2 separate regions of the Homo sapiens genome follow, and region 1 is linked to region 2. Evidence: promoter capture Hi-C in 16 types of primary human blood cells and fetal thymus (Javierre and others, 2016). All regions are on one chromosome and are shown on one strand. Each heading gives the region's core, a stretch centred on a gene start or on the middle of the fragment in contact. The rest is flanking DNA. Distances are from core to core; before and after follow the strand shown.

The links. Contacts are between HindIII fragments. The CHiCAGO score rates a contact against its expected background, and 5 or more counts as called.
Region 1: a fragment that was not itself captured here is called in contact with the fragment with the promoter of PRKAR1B in region 2 in 2 of 17 cell types (naive CD8 T cells and activated CD4 T cells); the score reaches 6.4 in naive CD8 T cells.

The regions. Positions count from the first base shown.
Region 1 is chr7:483,555-488,429 of GRCh38, reverse strand. No RefSeq gene overlaps it. Among named protein-coding and RNA genes, the nearest start is that of PDGFA, 34 kb to the left of the region's middle. The HindIII fragment of the contact is 2,362 bases long and covers 254-2,615 here.
Region 2 is chr7:726,031-731,091 of GRCh38, reverse strand. It overlaps PRKAR1B (protein kinase cAMP-dependent type I regulatory subunit beta), which reads left to right and starts at 3,811. Exons shown (of 11, transcript NM_001164760.2): 1 at 3,811-3,882. DNAAF5 (dynein axonemal assembly factor 5) reads right to left here and starts at 4,393. Exons shown (of 13, transcript NM_017802.4): 1 at 3,777-4,393; 2 at 1,245-1,429. The coding sequence starts at 4,371. RefSeq lists an enhancer at 1-226 and silencers at 3,531-3,610, 3,651-3,760, 3,821-3,870, 4,121-4,320. The HindIII fragment of the contact is 13,329 bases long and covers 1-5,061 here.

The DNA of each region.
Region 1 (4,875 bases), core at 185-2,684, 240 kb after region 2:
TGCTATGTTGCCCAGGCTGGTCTTGAACTGGGCTCACGTGATCCTCCTGCCTCAGCCTTTCAAGTAGCTCTCTAATCTTTGTTATTTCATTTTTCTGCTTGTTTTGGGTTTGGTTTGGTTTTTTTTTCCATTTTTTAAAAGATGGAAGATTAAGTTATTGATTTGACGTCTTTTCTTTTTTATTTTAAAAAATTAGGAGTTTCTAGCTATAAATGTCCCTCTAAGCACTGTTTTAAGCTGCATCCCATAAGCTTTGGTAAGTTGAGTTTTCTTTCATCTCAAAGTATTTTCTGGTTTTCGCTGGGATGTCTTCTTTGACTTATTGGTTATGTAGGAGTGTGTTGTTTAATTTCCACATATTTGTGAATTTCATAAATTTTCATCTATTAATGATTTCTAATTTTATTTCATTATGGTCAGAGAACATACTTGGTATGATTTTCATTATTTTGAATTTATTGAGACTTCTTTTATGGCCAAACATATGGTCTATCCTGGAGAATGTTTCACGTGCACTTGAAAAGAATGTGTGTTTCTGGATGGGCGCAGTGGCTCACACCTGTAATCCCAGCACTTTGGGAGGCCAAGGCAGGCGGATCACTTGAGTCAGGAGTTTGAAACCAGCCTGGCCAACATGGTGAAACCCTGTCTCTACTAAAAATACAAAAATTAGCCGGGCATGGTTGGGCATGCCTGTAATCTCAGCTACTCAGGAGGCTGAGGCACGAGAATCGCTTGAACCCGGGAGGTGGAGGCTGCAGTGAGCTGAGATTGCACCACTGCACTCCAGCCTGGGTGACAGAGCGAGACTCCATCTCCAAAAGAAAAAGAATGTGTATACCTTTATGGTTGAATGGAGTGTTCTGTAGATGCACATAAGATCGAGTTGGTGTATGATGTTGTCCAGGTCTTCTACTTGCTGGTTGATCTTTGGTCTAGTTGTTCAATTTCAATTTGTTTTTGTATATCGTCCTTAGATCCTGCAACCTTGCTAAATTCACTTATTAGTTTTAGTAGAATTCTTTTGAAATTCCTTTGAGTTTTCTACATACATGATCATGTTATCTGGAAATAAGAACTGTTGTATTTCTTCTTTTGCATTCTGTATGCCTTTTATTTCTTTTTCTTGCCTTGTTGTACTGGCTGGGACCTCCAGAACAAATAGAAGTGACAATAGAATGGGCAATCTTGCTTTATTCCTGTTATTAGCTAGAAAGCAATGAGCCTTTCAACATTGAGTAAGATGTTAGCTGTAGCTGTTTTGTAGATGCCTTTAATGAAGTTGAGGAGGTTTGCTTCTCCTATTAGTTTTCTGAGAGGGTTTTTTGTTTTTCTTAAATCATGAAAAGTTGTTGAATTGTGTCCATTTTTTTTGCATCTATTGCATTTCATTGTATGGTTTCTGCATCTGTTAAAATTACCATGTGATTTTTTTTTACATAATTCTATTATTGTGAATTACATTGATTAGTTTTTCAAATGCTACATTAACCTTGCATTCCTGAGATTAACCCACCTTGGTCATTAAATACGTTTCTTTTTATATTGATTCTACTTGTTAATCATTTGTTAAGGATTTTTGTGTCCATGCTTAAGTGGGAAATTGTTCTGTAGTCCTCTTTTCCTGTGGTGTCTTTGGTTTTGAATCAGGGTTTTTGGAGAGTCACAGAAAGTTACAGCCACACAGAGACAAACACATAGACACAAAAACACATGGAGCACCACACACATTCACGTACAGGCACACACATTCACATACAGGTTCACACATTCACACACAGGCTCATGCATTCACACGCATTCACATGCAGGCACACTCACTCACGTGCAGGTCCACACACAGGGACACACATTCACACACAGGCTCACGCATTCTCACGTAGGCACACGCATTCACATGCAGGCTCACACATTCACACACAGGCTCATGGAGTCACACGCACACACATGCTCACACAGGCATACACAGTCACACGCAGGCTCACGCAGGCACACGCAGGCTCATGCAGGCACATGCAGGCTCACATATTCACATGCCTCACACACAAGCGCGCCTCACACACAAGCACATGCATTCACACACAGGCATACACATTCACATGCAGGCTCACATAGGCTCACACGGGCACACACATTCACACACAGGCACGCACACATTCACACACAAGCTCACACACAGGCTCATATAGACACCCTCGAGGATGCTTCAGTCCGACGCGGAGTCAGGAGAGCTCGGACTCACTGAGGACCCTGCTATGGTCTGCAGCTGTGTTCATTTATCAGCTGGGACAGTGTGGGGTGCTCCTTGGACGCTGTCTGTTTCTCCCGCTCTGAGAAGAGCCCTGCCCCGGTTACGAATCCTTCATGACCGTGATTTCTGCCGCTTCCCGGGAGTCATCAGGGTACAGGGATCCCGCCTCCTGACAGTGCCCTTCTGCGGCCCTGTCCCTGTTCTGTGGACGAGGACACAGCCATCCAGGGGTGGAGCCGTGCATTCCAGGGCCCTTATCCTGTTCAGCCACCCCTCCCTCCCACAGCGTCCCCTCCCTGCCCCACCTGGCATTGGCCCCAACCCCCAGCGCCCTTCTTGGTGGCGGGTGTGGACTGCACAAGCTTGTGGCGATGGAAAGCTGGGCTGGGGCCAGACTTGGTGAGAGGCCACGAGAGCTGGCACTGAGGGGCCCTCGCAGTGGGATGCCCTGCCAGGCTTCTGGGGCCATGTCCCTCCTGTGGCTGTCCAAGCCCCACAGATGGCGATGCAGTGTGTACGTCCTGCAGCTCCTCGTGGCCTGGCGAGTCACAGCCTGTCCTGTGTTGATTTTGCTGCTCAGCAAGGGATGTGGGCAGATAGTGTCACAGTTATTTATCAGGAGGCAGAGAACCCCTGGCAGAAGTGGGTCTTGGGGAGGCTAGACTCACTAGAGCCCCAGCCTGGGAGCTGTGGCTTGCTGGCCTGCAACCGTGGACCCCAGCCCCTGGGGGCCCTGGAAGCCTGTTTCTCCATGATCAAGGGCCGTTTTTTGCGAGTGTTTGCAAGGGAGGAAGGGCTTCCTGCAGGATCTTCCCGTGTGATGTCTCTATGGGCTTTCTCCTGGGACAGGGACCCATCAAAGGTGGGAAGGGAGGGTGGTGCTGTCCGGGGAGGTAGGTGAGGGGACCACAGTCTGAGGTCCAAACTGCAAAGGGTTCACCCCGTAGCCTCCTCCCTCCTTCATTCCCTCCTTTCTTTTGTTCTCTCCCTCCTCACCTCTCCATTCGTTTTTTTGGAGCTACTGGGGCTGGAGCCGCCTCCTGGGATTGTGGCAGCCTTGGAAGATGGGTCCTCCAGTGAGAGCCTCGGGGCTGGGAGGAGAGGCCCAGGGTGCCGCAGTCCCAGTCCCAGGGTCATGGGGGGCCCTCGAGCGCGGGGGACCCTGGGGCCTCTGTGCAAGGGATGGCTCTGGGGCCCTGTGCTGATGGAGGACTCTGTGTTTACCTAATGAGGGGGTGCATGGGGGTTGGCAAACAGCCCTTGACTGCTGGCGGAGGCTGTCGGCTTGGGTGGCTTCCAGAGGCCCCTCAGCCCTGCATACCTTCCTCCCGGGCTCCAGTCCCGCCTCCCCCACCTTCTCGAACACAGACCTGCAGCGACCCTGAACAAAAGGAAATCCCTAAAGCTAATGTCCATGGGGGCTGGTGGGAAGTGAGCAAGAGTGGGGGTGGGGTCAGGGCCCTCGGAAGCAGGGGTCATGCGGGAGTGGGAGTGTCCCCCTGCCTGCCCCAAGCCCAAGGGGAAATACCTGAGTGAGCCCTGGCCCGTAGGAGGCGTGTGAGGAATGTTCCAAAAATCCTAGGCTGAGTGAATGAGGCCCTCACCCAGGCAGGGTCTAGGGCCAGGGACAGAAAGGCTTGTCTGAGGACACACTGGGAGCCAGCCCGTCTTTGGGTGACCCCAGACGTCACCCCAACCTGGATTTCCAAACCAGGTCCCCCAAGGCTCTGGCCCTGAGCAGGTGGAGGAGGGGAGGGGCAGGCAGACACAGTGTCGGCTTGGGGGAACGGGGTTGGGGGTACGGCAGAGGGACGGTCCCACATCTAGAGGCCAAATTCAGGACAGCCTAAAAAACACCCTCCGGAAAAGGCAGCCCAAATCATCTCATGTGCTTCTGAAATTCTTGCATTTTCCCCCTCAAAATCTGTCCTAGTTATGCTTGAGATCTCCTGACCCCAGAATACTTTTATTTATGACAGAAAATTCATCTCCATGGCAACGCCTTAGGAAGCTGCAGCCTCAAGATTATAACTTCCCAAGCAATGAAGACAATAAATGGATTTTTCACAAAACGGCTAAGAGCGACTCTGGCAAGAACCGGCCCCTCTCTGCAGTCTGGGGAGGGGGGGTTGGAGTTGAGAGGGGTGAGGGGACAGAAGGAGTCCCTAGGGCTGAAGTAAAGCCCACCAATGTGGTGGGTCTGAGGGAGGAAGCTTCACATTGTCTGTGTTCCGGCTTTTAAAGAGCAGCGCACTTAACCCCTTCGTCAAATCAAACATGACCCTGGGTTGCCCTAGAGGCCCTGAGCGAGCATCACCACATCAGGCCTGGCAGGCGCCTGCACACTGCAGTGTCTGAGCCCCTCAGCCACCTCCAAAGCACACATTTGTGCCTTGTCTTCACTGTCTGAGAAACAGGCATGGAGGATGAAGGAGGTCTCCTTGTCCCAGGGAACCACAGGAGCCTCTCTCTGGCAGCCTTTAGGGATCCAAGGCTGGAAACCCCTTTGCAAATAGCTTGGAGCAGCTTTCCAGGCTCAGCCCAAATTCCACAGTGAGGGGGCAAGTACTGGCCAGTTCCAGCAGAGATACTTCCTCAAATCAGATGGTGCGCATTGCAGGGGC
Region 2 (5,061 bases), core at 2,562-5,061:
GCCGGCCGCCTGCACTTCTTGCTGGGCTCTGTTCTTGCCCTGGCCCCTTGAACTGCCCTCCGCAGCCCAAATATTTAGCCAGTGCCAGAAGTGCCTGCTGCAAGTGCCGGGCAGCATGGACACTGACCCCGCACTCTGCCCACTTTCTCCCCACTGGGCAGAGCCTGATGTCCTCAGGGGCCCTCTGTGCTGCCTGGTGCCGAACCCACGCCAGCTCCAGGAGGGGCCGGCCAGCGTACATGGTGACTCAACTTCCGCTGGCCTGATGAGACCAAGGGGGGTGAACAAAGGCTCCTGGTGGGAAAGGGTCCCCCTGTGTCTCTGCGCACAGCCCCTAGGCAGCCACTCTGCTGCTGGAGGGAGAGAGCCGGAGAATGAAGCCTGGCCATGGAGGCAAAGCAGGGGTGTCCTGAGCAGGTGCTATGTCACACCTGGAGCCGGCCCTACGGGTGGACCCCAGCAGCACAGACGAGGGAGCGAGTCAGGGCTTCCATCCTGGCCCCAGAATACCCCGAGTGACTCTTCAACTCACCACCTTCAAGCCATTTCTCATCAGGAAACCTACCTCTTCAAGGCTGAAACCTGGAACCATGCACAGTGAAGAGGCCAGACACAAAAGATCACATGTCTGACTACGATGACAGGTAACTCAGAGACAGAAAGATCAGAGGTCACTCAGCTTCCCCGGTGGCCACAGTGTGTAGCATTTTAGCAAGTCACTGGGGCCTCAGATCCAAGACATGCCCTCCAGGCCAGATTCTGCCAGCAGTAAAGCCAACACTCAGCCCCATCTGTAGGACTCCTGCCTGCCTGCCTGCCCGTCTCTTGGTGGGTTCCAAAGCCCAACGACATAATTATCCCCAACAAACCAACCCCGACTCCACTCTTCTCCCAGTCCAGGTCCACCAACCATGGTGGCTTTTCGGGAAAGTGCGTCTTGATGGATGGGAGCACTAAGGAACCTTCTGCAACTGCTGAAGTGCACACTGTGCCTAAGAGACAATAACTACACAAGTCATCCTTTCTAACATCCTTGGAATTCATAACATCAAACATTAAAACAGTTCAGCTCTCTTCTAGTTTTTCCAAGATGTGAACAGGAACGTCCTGTGACTAGGAATAATGAAAGGACATTTGGTGCATACAGCACTCTGAAAAAAGAACAAGTGAGTTAGTTAAAAACAGCACGTCAGCCCGCCTGTGTTGGAGAGAGGAACAGACTGTCCAGGAGAAACACCAGTTACCTGCGGGACGTCATCAAACAGTCGCTGAGCAAAATGGGAAAGCACGTCGTCCACGGACTTCCCGTTGCCAAAATGGATCACTGCGCCTGTGGCTTCAATGGCGGCCACACGGACCTTCCAGTGCTGGTGGGAGATGGTCTGCATCAGGGGCCCGATCAGAGACTCCGACTGCATGTGGAAGTGGTCTGAGGGACAGGGAGGCCCCCAGTTACCAGAGCTGCTCCCACACGCCTCGCCCAGCTCTGTGGGCTTCCAGAGGACGGCTGCCTGCCTATGAGTTCCTCACCTCCCTTCCTCTCCTACGCCAGGTCCTTGCTGCATGAACAGTACACAATCCAGGCTGCCAAGGAGAGCTCTGTACCGCCCGGCACAGGAAGAGGCTCAGGGACAAGCGTCCCACCCTGATGACACCTGTGCAACCCAGAGGCTTAGGAGGACCAGCGGGGAAAGGCTGGGGGTGCAAACCCATTGTGGCTGAAGACCAGAGAGCCTGGACCTGCTGAAGCCAAGGTGGAGGCCTGACGGGGACACTGGCCAGAGGAAAGAAGCCGAGCCCAGAAGACAGAGGCGAGGCCACACTCCCAGCCCCACCTGAGACGAGACCCCAGGCTCCTCCAGGAAGCTGGGCCAGCACCACTCCAGGCAAAGCCACTGCACTTCCTATTTGTAAAGTCCCCGCAGAAAGTCAGAACAAGAGGTGGCAGGCGCCTGTAATCCCAGCTACTTGGGAGGCTGAGGCAGGAGAATCGCTTGAACTCAGGAGGCGGAGGTTGCAGTGAGCTGAGATCGCCCCACTGCACTCCAGCCTGGGAGACAGAGTGAAACCCTGTCTCAAAAAAAAAAAAAAAAAAAGTCAGAACCAAAGGGTCTCTGGCATCCAGGCCGCCTCTTGCCTCAGCTCTGCACTACTTGGGGCCCGTCTGGGAAACGGCTATTCCAGTGAGACTTTGGGTGAGCGCCTCAACCTCTCTGCCGTTGCCCAGTGTGACCGAGACCAGAGGTGAGGCCCCCCACCCAGGGGAGAGGAAGGCCAGAGGTGCTGGAGATGAGGGGATGCTCCAGGCAGAGGCACAGTCCCTCACCCCACAGCAACCAGTGAGCACATACCCCAGCAGGCTGCGCTTGGGGCTGGGGCACAGATGGGCACAGTGCTGTCCTGTGGAACCTACGGTCCAGGGAGGGAGCTCGTGGGGCTGATGTACAGACTGGGTAGGGAAGTGGTTGAGGATGAAGAAGAAATACATTAAATGCCAGGAATTCTCAATGGCCATGTCCATCCAGCCCAAGGTTCTTCCCCAAGCTCCACAGGAGTTCTGGACCATGTGAAATCCAAAGTTAACCAACGTGGAAATCTCGGCATTTCCCCAAGTCCAGCTCTTCCTCTACTTCTGGAATCTATTCTCCACGCAGCTGCAGTGATCTTTTAACAACCTGAACTCGGGTCTATCACTTCTATTGACACCCCCTGCACTTCCCACTACATTCAGACCATCACTGGGACATCACTGGGACGGCCTGAGCTGGCCAGATCCCTCACTGCTTTCCTGCTCCCTACCGCCCACGGATTTATAGCATCAGTGTTCCCTCCTTCGGAAAGCCTTCCCGCCAGCAGGAAGCAGGCGCCTGCTATCATTCCACATCCCAGCCAGGGGAGGGAAAGGGCAAGACCCTGCAGGAATGGCCAGCTAAGGAAAGGGAACGACCGGATCAGATCAGAGCTCTAAAAAAGATGGGGAACGTTATAAAGTGGAGGGGAGAAGCGGCCTCCTTCCACTTAGGACAGTGGTCCAAGCCAGAGCGGAAAGGCAGGGGAGTAGGATGAATGGGACAGAAAGTGAAATGACCAGAGCAGAGTCTCAAAGCGCGTGCCCTCAACCAGGTGCAAGTCCTGCAAGCCCCCGAGGGAAGGAAAGGGGGCAGCTATCAGGGCACACCCCACCCCAAACCGCCTAACAGGAATTTCTGCGGTGGTTTCCAGGTATCTGGACAGAAGCGCTGGCTCGTGGGCCCGGGTGGGGTGGAGGGGGCTCAGGCAGGGAGGAGGGTGGGAGGTGAGGGTCGCGGGAGGGCGGCGTGCAAGGAGGAGGATGGCACAGGATAGGCAGGTGGAGGGGGCACAGGGAGCAGGCAGGTGGGGGGCGGGGCTTGGGGCGTGGAGGGTGGAGGCGGGGAGCAAGGGGACAGGGGAGTGAGGTGAGTGAGGGCCAAGCAGGAACAGGGGTCACGGGGCAAGGAGCACGTGGCAGCGCAGGAAACAGGTACATGGGGGTAGAGGACAAGGGAGCAGCTGAAGGGCGCGTTGGTGGCGGGACGTGAGGCAGGGGAAGCAGTGGTGGTGGGAGGAGGGGGCCGGGCGGGGTGCTTTGGGGCAGGCGGGTGGGGGAAGCGGCGCATGGGGGGTCCGGGATGTTGGGGGGTGCGGGCGTGGAGGGGGGCGGGGCCGAGCCGCGGGGGTTGTGAGAGGGGCCGCGGAGGTGGAGGTGGGGGTGAGAGTGTGGGGTGGCGTGTGGGAGCGGGGCCCGGGGTGCTCACCGGGCGTGGCCTGCGCCAGGGCGGCGGCGCAGCTGCAGCTCTCGCGGCGCACGGCGGCGAAGGGGTCGAGCAGGGAGCAGCGCAGCGCGCGCAGAGCGTCGTCCAGGTGGGGCGCGAGCGCGGCGCCGCACAGGTCCACGGCCAGGCCCAGCAGCTGCACAAGCGCCAGGCGCAGCTCCTCACAGGCCTCGGGCGGGCGGCGCGCGGGCACGGGGCCGGCCAAGCGCGCGGCGAGCGCGGGCAGCAGGCGCGGCAGGGCATCGCGGGGCCGCGCGGCGCGGCGCAGGCCCAGATCCAGCAGGTGCACTGCCAGCGCGCGGCAGCCCTCGGCGGGGTCGCTCAGGCAGCGCAGCAAGCGCGGCAGCAGTAGGCGCGCCCAGGGGCCCTGGAAAGCGGTGGGGTCGGCGGCAGGGCCTGGCTCCTCCAGCGCGCGCCGCAGGGCCTCCAAGGCGCGCCGCCGGCCCGGCTTGCTGTCGGCCTCCAGCCCCGGCAGCAGGCGGCTCAGGGCGCGGCTCAGCTCCACCGCCTCAGCCGTCTCGGCCCCCTCAGCCGGGTGTGGGGCCGCCACGGCCTCCGCCACCCCCAGCGCCGCCATCTTGCCCGCGTCGCCGGTCACTAAGGGGAACAGCGCTTTCGCGACTCTCAGCGCAGATTACGGCAGCACTTCCGGTCCGCGCTGCGGGCGGGGCGCCGGGCTACTTCCTCCCCGCCGGTGCGCACGTGGGCCTGTGCTCTTGTCGTGCTCGCCCGCTGTCCCCCTCTGTCGCCGGAACCCCCGCCAGCCTGCCTGCTGGGCCTTGTCCTGTCCCCATTGTACAGATGGGGAAGGTCTCGGGAGGGTGCAGCTCGCCCGGGATGCGGGTCCCGGGCTATAGGCCTGGGCCTGCCCCTAGGGAAGCCTGCCCTGCAGCCTAGGGGGCTTGGAGAAGGAACCTGAGTGGTCCCGCCTGGGACCAGGGTAGCCGGGAAGCCCCTGTTTGAGCCGCCTAGAGCCCCTCTGGCTTTGGGAAGGTCCGTTCCAGGAGGGAAGGACGCTGGTTCTGTGGACTGGATCCCCCTGTGGTGTAAGACAGGTGCCTGGTCTGGGCTTCACGTGCAGCCTGTCATTAGATCTCAGGCGTAGCCGCCCAATAGGTTCGCCTTACTCGCTGCCCAGGTAGAGCCAATTTATCAAGACAGGGGAATTGCAATAGAGAGTTTAATGCATGCAGAAACTGGCTGCATGCAGAAACTGGCTGCATGCAGAAACTGGCTAAAGGACACTGGAGCTTTATTGCTCAAACCA